3 separate regions of the Homo sapiens genome follow, and all the other regions are linked to region 3. Evidence: promoter capture Hi-C in human tissues and cell types (Jung and others, 2019). All regions are on one chromosome and are shown on one strand. Each heading gives the region's core, a stretch centred on a gene start or on the middle of the fragment in contact. The rest is flanking DNA. Distances are from core to core; before and after follow the strand shown.

Region 1 (3,367 bases), core at 841-3,340, 260 kb after region 3:
CCTGGGAAATTAAAGGGCTGGGAGAAGAAAGTGTGTTCTGGGAAGAGGGAACAGCATGTGCAAAGGCCTGGAGGCACTCACTGAGTGACGGATGCATTGGAGGAACTGGCATGGTCAGGACTGGCAGAGGGAGAGAAAGGCGCAGCAGCCGGCAGCACGGGGCTGCAGCAGGCGGGGGGCAGAGGCTGGGCCTGGAGGGCCCTGGCTTTGTTTTGAGCACTAGGGATCTATGAGCAGGGTGTAAGCAGGGGAATCGCCATCCAGTTAGGGTCACTCTGTCCCCCAGTGGGGACAGAAGAGGAAGAGGCAGAGATAGCGACAGGAGGAAAGGCTGAGGAGTGGAGTGGAGAGAAGCTTCTCCAGGGAAGGCCAGCAAGGAGCCAGTGGGGGTTCTCTGGAATGAAGGCCCAGGTCAGGCAGACCTGCACAGCCTATGCCAGAGATAGAGAACTGTCCTCTTCTTTTAGGGCCTGAGGCCAGGGCTGGGCATTCACCCAGGACGGCCTGGATAAGACCCAGAGACCTGAACAGGAGGCTGGGTCAGGTCGATCCCAGGCCGAGGCTCCCATCACTCTGCCCTGCAGAAGGCCAGCTCTGTGGGGTACATGGGCAGCAGAGGGGGCTGTGGAGCTGGGGAGGGGTGAGACTGCCCAGTTCAGACTTGGCAAGGGACAAGGCTCTGCCTCCAACCAGCTACAAAGGGGCTGGGGCAGAGAGTTCTGTGTAGTCACCTGTGTGGGGATGCAGTGAAGGCAGTAAGCCCCATTCCACAGTTAGGCTGCAGTAGCCACAACTATCCTCCAGTCTGTCACCAAAGATGAACTCAGGGTATGAGGGAGCTAAATGAGGCCTAGGGGAAATTCCTCCAAGGTCAAGGTGAGGCACCTATGGGATAAAAGTTGGGGTGGAGGCTGCTGTTCTGAGCTGGGCACTGAACACGGGTCTTGTCCTAGCTTCTGAGTGGGCCAGAGCTAGGCCCCTGCCCTGTGACAGGACCTTGTGCAACTAGTGCTCAGGCTGTCCAGAGAAGACCTTGGTAGGAGGTGTCTTCCCCCATACTGAAGAAAGAAAGGAGGGGAGGTGGCAGCCCAGGGCCCAGGCCACGGCTCAAAGCACTGGCCACTGGGGGAGCTCCCACAGGGCCCTCTAGAAAGGCGGCAGGAGGAAAAGGCCCCAGCTCCTGTCCTGGCCTGACCCCCACTCCCCCTGCTTGCTCTGCACTCCCCCAGCTCCCACCCAGCCTGGCGCCCTGCGAAGACCTTTGCTCTCCTGGGCCTGGAGCCAGGCAACTGCCCTCTCTCCACCCCCAATCTGGCTGGGTCAGCTACAGGATGTGCACTGAGAAGAGACAGTCCCCTAACTCCCAACCATAACTGAGAGCCTTAAGCAGGGCCCACTTGCAGCTGCAAGCCAAGAGGCCCAAATGGGCAGCCTCCTGCCCCCAACCCCACAGTGCTGGCAGAGTGAGGGACCTCAGAGCTCGCCAGAGCTTTGGGCCATGGTCTGCAGCTCCAGCCTGCATATTTTCTACCCCGGACAGCACACACGCCTCCTGCCTATGAGGCCTCCAACATCTCACATACCCCAGAACCCATGCTGCATATGCGCCACCCCGCAATACTCTAACTGCACCCCATCCAGCCCCAATGTAGCCTTGGTGCTCCCTGAGACAGTCACAAATCCCCTGCCCCCAAGCAGAAGGATGCTTTCTTATGCTCTCCCTCCCTTTCGGACGGGAAGAGGGAGAAAAAGCACACCCAAGGCCCACCTTATCCAAGTGATCCCACAACCACTAGCATTACCAGCCCCACTGTCAGAGCAGATAAGGCCCAGAGAGGGCCAGCACCAGGCCCTAACACACCACAAAGCAGAGGAGCTCCACGTCCCCATGGCCAATGTCCACACACCTCCACCCATGACCAGGGCCCCCTGCCTGGCTCTACATACCCCACCTAGTCTCATTTTCTCAGAGGGATCCCCACCAGCCAATCTCCTCTTTTTCAACGTCCCCCTCCTTGCGCCCCCCACTCAGGGCATCTGTTTATGTGGGGGAAATGCTGAGCCTAGTAAGGGCCACTCACAATCGCACTACCCCAGCCCCTTCAAGGCCCTCTTCAAACCCAAGCCAGGCCAATCGTGGGCGATCCTGTGCCAGGCCCAGCACTTCCCTTGCCGGGCTGGCTATAAGCTTGTTGCTGCTGCAGCCCTGCTTTTCTCTCCTGCCCAGTGAGGGGCAGAATCCTCTTTTTCAGGAGATGAGAGGCTGGACAGGCCTGGCAGAGATAAGGCTGGCCCAGCAGTCTGCCTTTCTCCCAAGGCCGAGGCCTTCGGCAGGCAGGGAAATCCTCCTCTTCCTCCTTGCCTGGCTTCAGCAGCTGCCTCCCTGCCCCCAGAAAGCCACTCCACCATTCCTCCCCTCATTTGGCCTCAATAGGAGGGAATAAGGTTCCAGCTGGTCAGCATCTCCCTCCAGGGGAAGACAGCTGGGGAGTGGAGGGCCGGCTGCCCGCCAGGCCAAAGAGGCCCTTGTGGGGTGGGGGTGGGGCCGTCTGTATTCCTCTGCCCAGAGGCCCTCCCTTGCCCTGTGCCTTCAAAACTCAGCTTGGGCCCACAGACATCTTGGGTTGGAGTTTAGGAAGCCACTTCCTCCAAGAAGCCTTCAGAGTCCCTAGCCAACTCTGCCCCTCTGCTGCGCCCTTTGGTGCCACCTGCTGGAACAATATGGCTTCTCAACCCCGGGTGGCTGGTCTGGTGCTGGTGAGGCAGCCATGATGCCTGGGTAACCCTGCCAGCCTGTCCACTGCAGTCCCCAGCAGGTGCTCCAGTGAGCTGCTAATGACAGTATCTGTATTCAATCACTTCTGGGTCCTGAAGAGCCCTGTGCAGAGTGGAAAGTGAACAGAAATATCACTGTTTCTGAGCTCTGTCCATGGCCTCAGCACACCACCTCTCGAGACTTAGTTTCTCCTCCATATCAAGATGAGTGAGGGCCAGGCATGGTGGCTCACACCAGTAATCCCAGCACTTTGGGAGGCAGAGGTGGGAGGCTCTCTTAGCTCAGGAGTTTGAGGCCAGCCTGGGCAACATAGCAAGACCTCATTTCTATTAAAAAATCAAAAAAATTAGCCAGGTGTGGTGGCATGCACTTGTAATACCAGACACTTGGGAGGCTGAGGCAGGAGGATCACTTGAGCCCAGGAGATCAAGGCTGCAGGTGAGCTATGATCATGCCACTGCACTCCAGCCTGGGCAACAGAGCAAGATCCTATCTCAAAAAATAAAATAAATAGAAGATGAGGGTGGGTGCTGTGGCTCATGCCTGTTATCCCAGCACTTTGGGAGGCCGAGGAGGGCGGATCACTTGAGG
Region 2 (3,216 bases), core at 22-2,521, 400 kb after region 3:
TGAGACTCTGTCTCAAAAAAAAAAAAAAAAAAAAAAATGCTGGACTGGGTGGCTCACACAAATGCTGTGATTACAGGCGTGAGCCACCGTAATCCCAGCACTTTGGGAGGCCGAGGCGGGCAGATCACTTGAGGTCAGGAGTTTGAGACTAGCCTAGCCAACATGATGAAACCCCATCTCTACGAAAAATACAAAAATTAGCTAGTCGTGGTGATGCGTGCCTGTAATCCCAGCTACTCAGGAGGCTGAGGCTGAGAATTGCTTGAACACAGGAGGCAGAGATTGCAGTGAGCCAAGATCTCACCACTGCACTCCAGCCTGGGTGACAGAGCGAGACTCTGTCTCAAAAAATAAATGAAAATTAATGTCAGAGAAGTGAGAGGTACAGTTGTGATTAAATAGATGAGTGCTTTTTCAGATAAAGGCTGCTTCCGTTCCCAGTCACTGTGAAAGAAATGGTCACTATTATTTTTCTGCTTCTCAGCCCAAGTTATTCTCCCAATTCAACTCCTCCTCATTCTTTATTGTAGTCTACAACTTTCCTGGTACTAGTTCACTGATACTTTGCTTTGATGTATTTTAAGCTCTCAGATAAGATGATGGCGTATATGTTTTCAGGAATAGCAGAGTAAAATGGTTATTTTGTTTAACTTTTAAACCTAGCTTTTACTCTAAAAGAGTTAATAACTTTTATTCGTTTTGGCTAGTGTCCTGCATCTAGTAAAAGTTACTTAGCTTTTCCTTTCATCCTCAGGAAAAACTGATTACTTTTTTTGGGGGGGGGCAGTAAGGGCACAGAGTCTTGCGCTGTCACTCAGACTGGAATGCAGTGGTGTGATGATAGCTTACTGCAGCCTGGGCTCAGGCGATCCTCCCGCCTCAGTCCCGAGTAGCTGGGACTACAGATGGATGCCATCATACCTAGCTAATTTTTTTTTTAATTTTTAATGGAGACAAGGTCTCACTATGTTGCTCAGGCTGGTCTTGAACTCCTGGGCTCAAACGATTCTCTTGGCTCTGCCTCCCCAAGTACTGGGATTATATGTGTGAGCCACTGTGCCCGACCTGATGACTTATAATTGCTTTTTTTCCCCTCCTTGTCCTAATGTCATTTAACATTCTGTATAGTGAGAATACCAGACTAAGCTTTTCAGTCAACATTTTTCTAATGTAAAGATCTATCGACTGGACGCAGTGGCTCACACCTGTAAACCCAGCACTTTGGGAGGATGAGGCGGGCACATCACCTGAGGTCAGGAGTTTGAGACCAGCCTGGCCAACATAGTGAAACCCTGTCTCTACTAAAAATACAAAAATTTGCTGGGCATAGTGGTGTACGCCTGTGATCCCAGCTGCTCAGGAGGCTGAGGCAGGAGAATTGCTTGAACCCTGGAGGCAGAGGTTGCAGTGGCCGGGATTGTGCCACTGCGCTCCAGCCTGGGTGGCAGAGCAAGAATCTGTCTAAAAAAATAAATAAGGCCAGGCACAGTGGCTCATGCCTGTAATCCCAGTAATTTAGGAGGCTGAGGTGGGAGGATCACCAGAGCTCAGAAGTTTGAGACCATCCTGACCAGTATGGTGAAACCCTGTCTCTACTAAAAATATAAAAATTAGCCGGCATGGTGGCATGCGCCTGTAGTCCCAGCCACTCGGGAGGCTGAGACATTAGAATTATTTGAGCCCAGGAGGCGGAAGTCGCAGTGAGCCAAGATCGTGCCACTGCACTGCAGCCTGGGTGACAGAGTGAGACTCCGTCTCAAAAACAACAACATCAAAAAAAGATACTTACAGAGGCCAGGCGTTGGTGACTGGCTCAACGTCAGTAATCTCAGCACTTTGGGAGGCCGAGGTGGGTGGATCACTTGAGCTCAGGAGTTTGAGACCAGCCTGGCCAACATGGTGAAACCCCGTCTCTACTAAAAATACAAAAATTAGCGGGGCACAGTGGCATGTGCCTGTAGTCCCAGCTACTTAGGAGGCTGAGGCAGGAGAATCGGTTGAACCTGGAGGCAGGGGTTGCAGTGAGCCGAGATCGCGCCACTGCATTCCAGCCTGGGTGACAGAGTGAAACTCCATCTGGAAAAAAAAAATTTATATATATATGTATAAATGTTTAATATATATTTTATATTTATATATTTGTATATCTTTTTTATATTTTAATATATGGTTTTTAATATATATTTTATACATATAAAGAGAAAGGTGCAAGGTATCTTCTGTTCTCTTAAAATTTTTTACAATTTCAACTTTTATTTTAGATTCGGGGGTACATGTCCAAGTTTTTTTGTGTACATGGGTATATTGTGTGATTATGAGGTTTGGGGGTACAATTGTTGCTCATCACCCAGGTAATGAGCATAGTACCCAATGATTAGTTTTGCAGCCCTTACCCCGTTTTCTCCCTCCCCCTCCTAATCCCTAAGGCCTATTGTTATGTTTATGTCCATGTGTACCCAGTGTGTAGCTTCCACTTGTAAGTGAGAACATGAGATACTTGGTTTTCTGTTCCTGCCTTAATTCGCTTAGGATAATGACCTCCAGCTGCATCTGTGTTGCTGTAAAGGACATTATTTCATTCTTTTTTATGGCTGTGCGTTCTCTGCCTTCTTATGATGTCTGAGGGTTCGTATCAACCTCTGTTAGGCCATTTGTTAGGTACCCTTCATGTTGACTTTCAGAATTTCTGTGGCTTGTGAAAGTTCATGGGGTCTTAGAGCTGCTAATGTATTTCTTACCAAGAGAATGCAGATAGACTTCTGATCTCCCCAGGAAATAAGTTGGGGTTTTTAGCAATCAGTTGCCCCTTATAATGGATAGTAAGCAGTATATTAAAAAGTTGTGGGTTTAGTTATAAAATAGACTGCTGGAAATCATTCTCTTCTACTGTCTTATTCTCAGTACACATGGATTATTCCTAGTATAATAACCAGTCTACTTAACTGACTAAACTCTGCAGTGGTGAGTATAAAAGGTTGTTTTGGTTGTTTTCCTTTGGAAATTGTCTGACATATTTGCTATGTAGTCATAATCATAGGTGATAAATTACTAAACCTTAATATCTTCAAAAATTAGTGTATTCACAATTAGCTTCCATTTTTACATGGCAGGATTTTAAAAAATCTAACCTGTAATTGTGTTTTTGGGAATTTTTATTTTTCTCTATTAAGAAGTGACACAGGCTGAGCATGGTGGTTTATGCCTGTAATCCCAGCA
Region 3 (3,521 bases), core at 868-3,367:
GAATCACTTGAGGTCAGGAGTTTGAGACCAGCCCGGCCAACATGGTGAAATCCCATCTCTACTAAAAATACAAAAATTAGCCAGGCATGGTGGCACATGCCTGTAATCCCAGCTACTGGGGAGGCTGAGGCAGGAGGATTGCTTGAACCTGGGATATGGAGGTTGCAGTGAGCCGAGATCACACCACTGCACTCCAGCCTGGGTGACAGAGTGAGACTCTGTTTCAAAAACAAAACAAAACAAAAAATGAACAAAAAACCATAAATAAATAAATAAATAACCAGTAGAGTACTGGCCAATCTAAGAGGATCTTGGCAATGTCCTAAAGACCTGGTGGGCCAGAGGTCAACCCATGAACTCATGGAATATGAGGAAGCTGAGGATCCTGGAGGGAAGGCAGGGGAAATCGGGGGGTCCTGCCAGTACTCGCTCAGCCACTCTGTTAGGGAAGAGTTTGAATATACTGATAACCAGGTGGCCAGAGTCACATGACTGGGTGTCTGTCCTGACTCAAGCATCCCACACGTGGGAATCCCAGGATGAGCTGCCTCATAGGCCATGGGAAGCCCGGGCTACTGTCTGGGAGGTCCCTGGTGTGCTGCTCTATGCAGTTCCCCATCTAGTGCCCCAGCCCCTTGATTAGGGATGGGTGTTTGTGGACTGACTATTGGAGGCTGAGGCCCAGGGTCCCTGCATGCTCACCTGCCCGCAGCCGAGGCAGCAGGTGAGACAGGGCCTGCAGTTGCTTGTGCTGGGCAACCCGCTCCCGTAGGGGCTCTAGAGTCTGTAAGGCCTGGGACATGCCCTGGAGCAACCCACGGGCCTGGCTCAGGGCCTCCCGGGTTCCCTGCACCACCTCAATGGCCTGGGCCAGCTGCCACACACCAGTCTGCACGCCTTCCAGGTATGACTGCATCACTGACTGTGGAAAGATGGAGCCATGAGGCTGGGCCAGCCCTGCAGCACAGTCCCAGCACCCGCACCCCCTGCCCCATGCCCACCTTGAGGCGCGATTCCAGGGAGCAGGTACGCTGCACCTCGCGGCTGCGGTACTGGCCTAGCCTGGCCAGCTGCTCCGGCCGGTAGAAGATGCCTGAGGCCCACTTGAGCGCTGCACCCCGGGCCAGCTGCTCTGCCCGCTCCTGCTCTGGCCACTCAGGTCCTGGGAAGGAAGAGCCTGGGCAGCCGTGTAGTCAGGGAGGAGGGCCCAACGACCCCAGTCCCAGCTTTCTTATTTATTTATTTATTTATTTATTTGTTTGTTTATTTGTTTATTGAGATGGAGTCTCGCTCTGTTGCCCAGGCTGGAGTGCAGTGGTGCAATCTCGGGTCCCTGTAACCTCCGCCTCCCGGGTTCAAGCGATTCTCCTGCCTCAGTCTCCCGAGGAGCTGGGATTACAGGCGCGTGCCATCACGCCCAGCTAGTTTTTGTATTTTTAGTAGAGACGGGGTTTCACTATGTTGGCCAGGTTGGTTTGGAGCTCCTGACCTCAGGTCATCTGCCCATCTTGACCTCCCAAAGTGTTGGGATTACAGGCGTGAGCCACTGCGCCCAGCCAGTCCCATCTTTGTTGCCATCATTCCTCCCCTAGTCCACCCAAAAGGTTCATACCAGGGGACAACGCCGGCTGCATCTCATCCTTGGCTGCTGAGTCCATTGTGGGCCTGGAGGAGCCAGAGCTGAGGTGGGCCCGGGGCAAGCAGGCAGAGTAGATGCCCCTGTGAGCTGCTGCCTCTGTCTAAGCCCTTCTGAGAGGAGGAAGGAGGTTCTTCCCGGCCCCCTCGGGAAGTGAGAGGGAGCGGGTGTGATGCGGAGGGCACCTGGGAGGCTTTGCCTGCTAGGTTTCCCAGTCGTGCCCCTGCAGATGTCAAGCGAGACAGAGTGGGCACAGGCCTCCACTGGACCCTGGTCCTGCTCTGAGCTGCACAGGACAGTTTGGTACAGAACTTACCAGATTTGATCAGGCGTCCAGTTCTCCCTCCAAAAATGACCTTGGCCTTGAGAACAGCCCTCTCCCCAATGCAGCTGGGCACGCCTGCCACTTGCTCACAGGGCCTGGGCAACTCCAGCTGACTCCAGCGTGCAGCTGAATTCCTCTCCCCAAGGAAGTCTCTCTCCCACTCCCCACCCAGAAGCCCCTTCTTCCCACCGAGGCTCCTCCCTCCCCAAGGCCATCAACAGAAAGGAAGGAAGCTGAGTCTCTGGCATTTTATTCCCAACAGGAAAGAGTGTCTGCACAGAGGGTGGGGACAGCTGGGCGACACTTCCCTGAGGGGCGGGGGGGTGGGGTGTACTTGTACTCAACCAGTCTTGACCAGCCTACCCAGAACCTCTTAGTGCTCAGGAGAGGAGATAGGGATTTGCTAGACTTGGCCTCAACCTGGGGTGGTGGGCAGAGTGTGCAGATATGGATGCAGACGACATCAACAGCACAGGATGAAAACTGTGTTGGCCAGCCTCTGAGGAGGATGTGTACCTCTGCGGAGGAGTGAGAGGTGGCAGGCTCTTGTGAAGAGGGGTGTGGTGGGGGGTGGTAGGAGAGGGTCATGAAAGCTGTGTTTATCTTTTTTGTTTTAGACAGGGTCTTGATCTGTCACCAAGGCTGGAGTACAGTGGCACCACCATAGCTCACTGCAGCCTTCTGGGCTCAAGCGATCTGCCTGCCTCAGCCTCCCAAAGTGTTGGGAGATTACAGGCGTGAGTCACCGCAACTGGGCAGCTGTGTTTATCTTGAGAGTTATAGGGAGCCAGGGAAGGGACTATAAGGTGGTAATTATTTAGTGGATGTTCAGTCCACCACCCAAATCCACCCTTCAGGACAGAAGTGCTCATTCTCCAGCTGCCAGGAGTGTAGGCTACTGAGATCACACCACTGAGTCTCTCAGTCAATATTGGGGTGCAAAAGCATGGTACCATCGTGTGAACATGAACCCTTCAGAAGTGCTACCCCAATTTCAGAGATCCTAGTGGGATAGGCTGAGGCCTATAATATAATTGCATCTGCTCAATTCTGCTTGTCTTAATCCCTTAAAGGTGTGGATCCTGACCAGGTGCGGTGGCTCACACCGGTCATCCCAGCATTCTGGGAGGCTGAGGTGGGAGGATCTCTTGAGCCCACGAGTTCAAGACTAGCCTGGGCAATATAGTGAGACCCACATCTCTAAAAAACTAAAAATAAATGAGCCGGGCATGGTGGTGCATGCCTGTGGTCCCAGCTACTTGGGAGGCTGAGGTGGGAGAATCGCTTGGGCCCAGGAAGCTGAGACGGCATTGATCTTGCCACTGCACTCCGGCCTGGGCAACAGAGTGAGACCCTGTCTCAAAAAAAAAAAGTGTGGATCCCCAACAAACTTGCTGCAAAACCCTATCTCGAGTCCCATTTCCCAGAGGACCTGATCTAAAAGAAACAATAATAAATAGTAACAATGTTAAAAGTTACAAAATGACCGTATCACACATTCCTGCATGCCAGGAATGACTGAGTGCTTTACTGATATTTACACATAGGTAAACACGTTTG

The links. The method cuts DNA at HindIII sites, captures the fragments that hold promoters and counts their contacts. A contact is called where the count stands out against the background at its distance.
Region 1: a fragment that was not itself captured here is called in contact with the fragment with the promoter of EXOC3L1 in region 3 in 2 of the 25 tissues and cell types used here (bladder and dorsolateral prefrontal cortex).
Region 2: a fragment that was not itself captured here is called in contact with the fragment with the promoter of EXOC3L1 in region 3 in 2 of the 25 tissues and cell types used here (dorsolateral prefrontal cortex and spleen).

Annotation. Positions count from the first base shown.
Region 1 is chr16:67,445,081-67,448,447 of GRCh38, forward strand. The region is part of intron 2 of ATP6V0D1 (ATPase H+ transporting V0 subunit d1); the gene reads right to left. Among named protein-coding and RNA genes, the nearest start is that of HSD11B2, 16 kb to the left of the region's middle. RefSeq lists enhancers at 1-301, 2,176-2,675. The HindIII fragment of the contact is 4,026 bases long and covers 78-3,367 here.
Region 2 is chr16:67,590,947-67,594,162 of GRCh38, forward strand. All of the region lies in intron 2 of CTCF (CCCTC-binding factor), which reads left to right. Among named protein-coding and RNA genes, the nearest start is that of CTCF, 30 kb to the left of the region's middle. The HindIII fragment of the contact is 6,285 bases long and covers 1-3,216 here.
Region 3 is chr16:67,188,019-67,191,539 of GRCh38, forward strand. It overlaps EXOC3L1 (exocyst complex component 3 like 1), which reads right to left and starts at 2,118. Exons shown (of 14, transcript NM_178516.4): 1 at 1,953-2,118; 2 at 1,613-1,665; 3 at 1,002-1,162; 4 at 703-922. The coding sequence starts at 1,658. The HindIII fragment of the contact is 11,498 bases long and covers 1,071-3,521 here.